2 separate regions of the Homo sapiens genome follow, and region 1 is linked to region 2. Evidence: promoter capture Hi-C in 16 types of primary human blood cells and fetal thymus (Javierre and others, 2016). All regions are on one chromosome and are shown on one strand. The core of a region is centred on a gene start or on the middle of the fragment in contact, and the rest is flanking DNA. Distances in the headings are between cores, read along the strand shown. Region 1 has its middle 27 kb from the start of MUSK. Region 2 holds the start of LPAR1 (lysophosphatidic acid receptor 1).

Region 1 (2,947 bases), core at 206-2,705, 400 kb before region 2:
ATGTACTCATTGACAACTGAGTACAACTGATATATTTATTAGTATATCAATTGATATATGCTTCTAAAGTGATTGAAACATTTGATCTTTTCAGTAGCATTAAAAGTTTTCCTAAAAATATTTCTTACCGTTTTTCAATGGCTTCCTTCAAACTGTAGCCTAACCACAGTCTGTGACAGCATTACATATGATGAATTAATGAGATCTGAATTCCATAGTATAAATGTTGTAAAGAAGAATGCGGAATATCTTTATGTGCTCAGTATTTAGGAAGCTGCCTAACTGGACTAGAATAGTTCCAATTTAAATTGGTGGATTTTCAAAAATTTTGGCCATTCGATTAATGACAAAGTTTTTGGAATAATTTAAACTCTTTAAGCAAGGGATAGGTGTACTCACTCATCAAAACATCTACACGAGGTACGTATTATTATTATTATAACATTTTAGAAAGGAGGAAAGAGATTAAATTACTTTCCCAAGGTAATATAGCCAGGCTTCAAACCCACACAGTAAAAACATCTTACAGCTTGTGGTTTTATTTCCACAACTATGTTAGAGAGAGAGAGAGGCCTGCAAATAAAAACTTCAAGTGCTGATTTTACCTAGAACTCTGTAAAATGACTTAACATAGCATTGATTGTCACCTGTGGCTGGGTGCCCAGTGGGAGTACCTAGACATCTGCAGTGGAAGTTGTTTTGACAGCTTCAGGAGTATTAGAAGACAGTCCTTTTGGCAGGCCTGGTGACATTATTACAGAGAACAATAGAAGAAGTGACAGTGATGAGAGGCTCTTACAGCTGAGGTTTGACAGGATGTCTCATTGAAGAGGCTGTTGCAAGAAAGTAAGATAACAGCAGCTGTGGGGGTAGGAGAAGAGATTCAGTTGTGAATTCAAGTGCAACCCCCAACCCACTCACTTACCCTGGAGACTTGCAATGTATATGATAGACTGTGCAGAATGCCTGACGCTACATGGAGTGATGGAGTTGAAAGCAGAAAATTTTGCATATTCCTTGACAAATAGTCCTACTTTTGCCTCTGGTATGGTCTAGAGAATAGACAGTATTCCTCTACCAAGACAGAGAAGCTGTGTCGAGGGGGCAAAGTTGATGTAATTTGGCAAGAATTACCTTCATGACATCAAGGGATTGATTTGCACAGCCATAATTCATTCCTGGGCTGCAATGCTCTATGATAGCTGAAATCCAGTTATCCTTATTTTGAGTCAGTTGGTCCTTTGACTGAAGCCAAACTTCAAATGATGAAAACTTAACGGGGCTCAGAGAAAAGCTAATGTAGGATTTAGAAAGATCCACTCATGGGTTACACATCATCGTTTTTCATGGATGATTACTAAATTAGTCAGAGCAAATATCTATAATTTTACTTGCAGAGTCACAGCCCTAGCTCTGCCAAGTACCCTGAGCTTTGTGTGATCTGAGGGACAGCATACATAGCCTTGGTGCAGTCACCAGGGGTGACCACAGAATTCCCTTATTCCAGGTGACACTGACCTTCAAATTAAAACAAGCCTCTGTCTTAATGGCTAAAATTGGTGAGAAATGGAACCAAAGTTTTTCCGATTTTGATAATGAAACACTGTAGGAGTAACCAGGCAAAAACAAAATTAAAAAGGTGACTTTCAATAGTACAAAAATTAGATTTGCTTCAAACTCATGCAATATTGAATGTCCGTCAATAGTACGAAAAGACTATATTCGATCTATTGCCTTTTACAAGTGGAGTCTTTAGGAGACAATTTTTCGTACACAAAGCCTTAGAAAACAGCTACTACGTACCCTTTCTGAAAAAGAAAGAAAAATATTTTACTCAATAGAAAAATGAATCAAAATTTACAAGTCAAGGCCAGGTACAGTGGCTCATGCCTGTAATCCCAGCACTTTGAGAGGCTGAGGTGGGTAGATCACTTGAGGTCAGGAGTTTGAGACCAGCCTGGCCAACATGGTGAAACCCTGTCTCTACTAAAAATACAAAAAATTACCCGGGCGTGGTGATGGGCACCTGTAATCCCAGCTATCTGGGAAGCTGAGGCAGAAGAATTGCTTGAACCCGGGAGGCAGAGGTTGTAGTGAGCCCAGATGGCGCCTCTGCACTCCAGCCTGGGCGATGGAGCGAGACTCCATCTCAAAAAAAATATTCGCGAGTCAAGATAGTTTTGTGACATGTAAGAACTGATGAGTGCAGGAATAATGTGTAAAGTTGACTAAAGTGTTGTAAGCATAACTGCAAAACTGGGCACAGATGTAAAAACTGTCTGTAAATGTTTATTTATAAATTTTATATATATGTATGTGTATAGTTGAAAGTAATGCATAATCATAGTGAATAATTTGGGGAATCAGAAAATTCAATTACAAAATAAGAATATAAAAATATATTTTATATAAAATGTAGAAACTTTTTATATAAATATAAAATTAAAATACTAAAATATTTAAAATTTATCTGCTCTTCTACCTCTGAGAGAAAATTCTAAAGATTTCAGTGTATTCTCTCTCTACATATATGCATGTGTACAAACCATACTATATAGGCACATTTTATTCTTATACTTTAAAAACAATAATGGCACTTTGGGAGGCCAAGGAAGGCTGATCACTTTGAGGTCAGGAGTTCGAGATCAGCCTGTCCAACATGGTGAAACCCTGTCTCTACTAAAAAATATACAGATTAGCTGGGCGTGGTGGTGTGCTCCTGTAGTCCTAGCTACTTGGGAGGCTGAGGCATGAGAATTGCTTGAACCTGGGAGGTGGAGGTTGCAGTGAGCGGAGATCACGCCACTGCAGTCCAGCCTTGGCGACAGAGTGAGACCCTGTCTCAAAATAATAACAATAATAATAATAATAAAATGGATCAAAATTTATATTCTTAAATTCAAAAAACATGATTATTTCAGCTTTTTTTTTTTTGGCTGTGATGTCT
Region 2 (2,927 bases), core at 332-2,831:
TGGAAATCAAGGGCAGAAAGAACTAGGTGACATTCTACCTCCCTGTGTATTTTAATGATGTTTAGTTTGGTTCAAATAACCATACCTCTAAAATACACCCTTTTTCCTTGGGACCCACTCTTCTATCCGGCAAGGGAATAACTTCTTAAAAAACTTCGCATTTTCCAAGTGTACAGTCTCCCCTTAACCAGAACTGCAGACTCTGAATCACAGACCTCTGGCTTACCAATTATGCTTAGCTGAGCAAACACACTTATGCAAATACGTGAAAAACAAACTGTTAGAGCCTGAAGGAATAGAGGATTTCGCTGTGATCATCAATATGTGATCATCACATTTTCAATATTTATGTTTACCAATATCTATCTAACCCCATAGGAAACGACGCGTCCATAGTGAAACAAGCCAGCACCCACATTTATGAAAAAATCCACGGATTTCAACAAAAATGAAGAGAGGAGAGCAGAAGCGGAGAGCCACAACCTCAGGCCCCAGACAGCAGGCAGCAGCAAGTCCTGAATGCCTTCACTCTTAACATTGCAAAGACCAAATGGCAGCAAAGAAAAACAAGAATAAACTTTAAATCCATTCACCACAAAGGAGTCCTACGCAAGTCAAAGGAGCCGTCGATTTCAAAACCATCAACTTTCAAAGCCAGGTCCCTCCCTTGCCTTACAACCTCCTGTTACTTGTTAAGCACGTTTGTTAGGCGGCTGGACAGAAACTTAGTTAAAAGTCCTCAGCCCGGTGGTGGGGGACAACCGAGTCGTCAGTGGGAAGCGAGAGGTGCGGAGCCCCAGGGGCGCAGGGACCCCTCGGAGGTGCAAGTCCAGCGGGACGAGGTTTTGGGAGAATTTCGAGGGCCCCTCGCAAGCCCTCCCGCGCACCCACCCCGACCCAGGTAACCGGAGGCCACCTACGTGTCACTGGGCGGGCCCCGGGGCGCACTGACCTGGCGCGGGACAGGAGGGCCGGCGGCCCGGGCGGCTGCGGCAACTTCCCTCCAGGGGCTCGGTCCGCCGCTGGGTGCGGGAGGCCAGGGGAGCCTCGCCTCCTGCAGGCCGGCTCGCAAGAACGCACGGCCACCCACCCGCGCCGCGGCCCACAGCGCGCACCCACACTCTCACTGGCACTCGCACGCGCGCCCCCAACCACAAAGCCCGTCCGCGGCGGGACAGTGTGAGCCCAGCGCGCCGTGTGGCGGGCCGAGCAGTCGCCGCGGCCTCTGGCTTCGCGCCCAGGGGGCGCCGTCCCCACACGCCGCGCCGGCCCCCTTACCTGCGCTCGCTGCCGCCGCGCGTCCCTCTCCTGCCGCCCCCGGGCTGGCTTCAGGCCGCGCGCCCAGTCCCGGCGGCCCCCGCCCCACCGCCAGCCGAGCCCGGCCCTCCGCCCGCCCCTCGGCAGTCGCCCAGAGCGGGGCCGCCCCCTGCGCCCACCCCGCCGGGGTCCCGTGCTCGGCCGGGCGGCGGGGAGGGCTCCGCGGCTCCGGGCCCTGGCCGCCCCAGATCCGGCCCGCGCTCCGCAGCGGGGCTGGAGACGGAGTCGCCACTCAGGGAGCGTCAGCCGCCAGTCGGCCCCTACTGCCCGGCTTTGGCGCGCTGGCAGGAGGAGGGGGCGCAGAGGGAGGGCCAGAGGAGCAGCGCCGACGCCAGCCTCCTCTCTTCCTCCGCCTTCCTTCTTTTCTGCTTGTTCCACGTAGCACAAGTCAGCAACACCCGAACCCCCAGAGTCCGCCCTCCCCGCTCCCAAGCTGGACCCCTTACCTGGTGTGGCGCCCCCAGCGCCCCTGACCTCTGCGCCCCCTCCTCCATTCATTGGCTCGACAGCCCACGGTGGTGGCAGGGCCGGGGCTGGGGGGTGGCCTTAGCCTCCCATTCATTATCTCAGCAGCCTCCCCCGCCCCGCCCCCGAGTCGACACACCCGCAGCGGGAGACCCGTGGCCGCCAGCTCGGGTCCCACCCCCGCCCCTCCTGCGCTTACCCCAGCGCCGGACAGCTGGCAGGACTCCGGTGGACGCCCCGGCACGGGGCATTTTCACGTTGTCGCTCTCCTCTTCCCACTCGAAAAGCTCTGGAAAACATCGCGGGGCCCGCAAAACCCCGGAAATGTGGCCTCTCTTTCGTGGCTCACTTTCTAAACTTTCCAGAAGGCGCAAAGTTTCTCCCAGCGCCGCCCTGCACTGGAGGCTGCGAAGAACGCAGAAGCGGCTTTGCTGCTAGGAAGGTGCATACGTTTCTAGTTCTGATTTTTCACTTCACTGGATCTGTAAACGAAAGCAAGTGTGTCTGCTCCCCTAGTTCTCCATATCCACGATTATAAATTTCTCTTCCGCTTTCCCAGTGTAGCTTTGCAAGTGTAAACTATCAATTTTAGTGAGAGTAATTAAGGGCGGGGACTGCACACCTGGAGGTGTGGGTGGGAGCGGCGCGGGACTAAGGCCTAGGGAACATTCTCAGGAGAGTGGCAGCCACAGGGATTCGCCCAGGTCTTATAACACACCCACTCGATGGGGTCTCCCTAGCCACGCCACCTCACAACACCCATCTCCCACTTCTGGCTTCCCAGGATTTCCGGAGTGATCACAATTATCGGCCTCTCGCTCCACAGCTAAGGCCACCGCATATCAAAAATAGCAGCGTGTGAGTAAAAGTTTCATGAGCCCTCGCCTTGAAATGGCACAGAGGACACAGCACACCAGCAGTAAGGCATGGGGACTCGGCAGGACTGATCTGATTGAGAGAAACGCAGGACAGCGAGGCGGGGCTATGTTGGTGGTGGCCACCAGGTAACCGTGGGCTTTGCAGAAGAGAAAGGTCACTGCAAACCGTAGCTGGACGGAAACTTTTCAAGCCTCAAGTGAGTTATGCTGTGACGGGACCATGACCATCTCCCACCGGTGACTGCTTAGAACCTTGACCAAGCTCGT

Evidence for each region. The method cuts DNA at HindIII sites, captures the fragments that hold promoters and counts their contacts. A CHiCAGO score of 5 or more calls a contact.
Region 1: a fragment that was not itself captured here is called in contact with the fragment with the promoter of LPAR1 in region 2 in 3 of 17 cell types (M1 macrophages, M2 macrophages and M0 macrophages); the score reaches 12.9 in M1 macrophages.

The regions. Positions count from the first base shown.
Region 1 is chr9:110,640,175-110,643,121 of GRCh38, forward strand. No RefSeq gene overlaps it. Among named protein-coding and RNA genes, the nearest start is that of MUSK, 27 kb to the right of the region's middle. The HindIII fragment of the contact is 3,157 bases long and covers 1-2,947 here.
Region 2 is chr9:111,036,889-111,039,815 of GRCh38, forward strand. LPAR1 (lysophosphatidic acid receptor 1) reads right to left here and starts at 1,582. Exons shown (of 6, transcript NM_001351411.2): 1 at 1,279-1,582. It overlaps LOC124902248 (a long non-coding RNA gene), which reads left to right and starts at 40. Exons shown (of 2, transcript XR_007061732.1): 1 at 40-901; 2 at 2,567-2,927. RefSeq lists a silencer at 1,012-1,351. The HindIII fragment of the contact is 5,735 bases long and covers 1-2,927 here.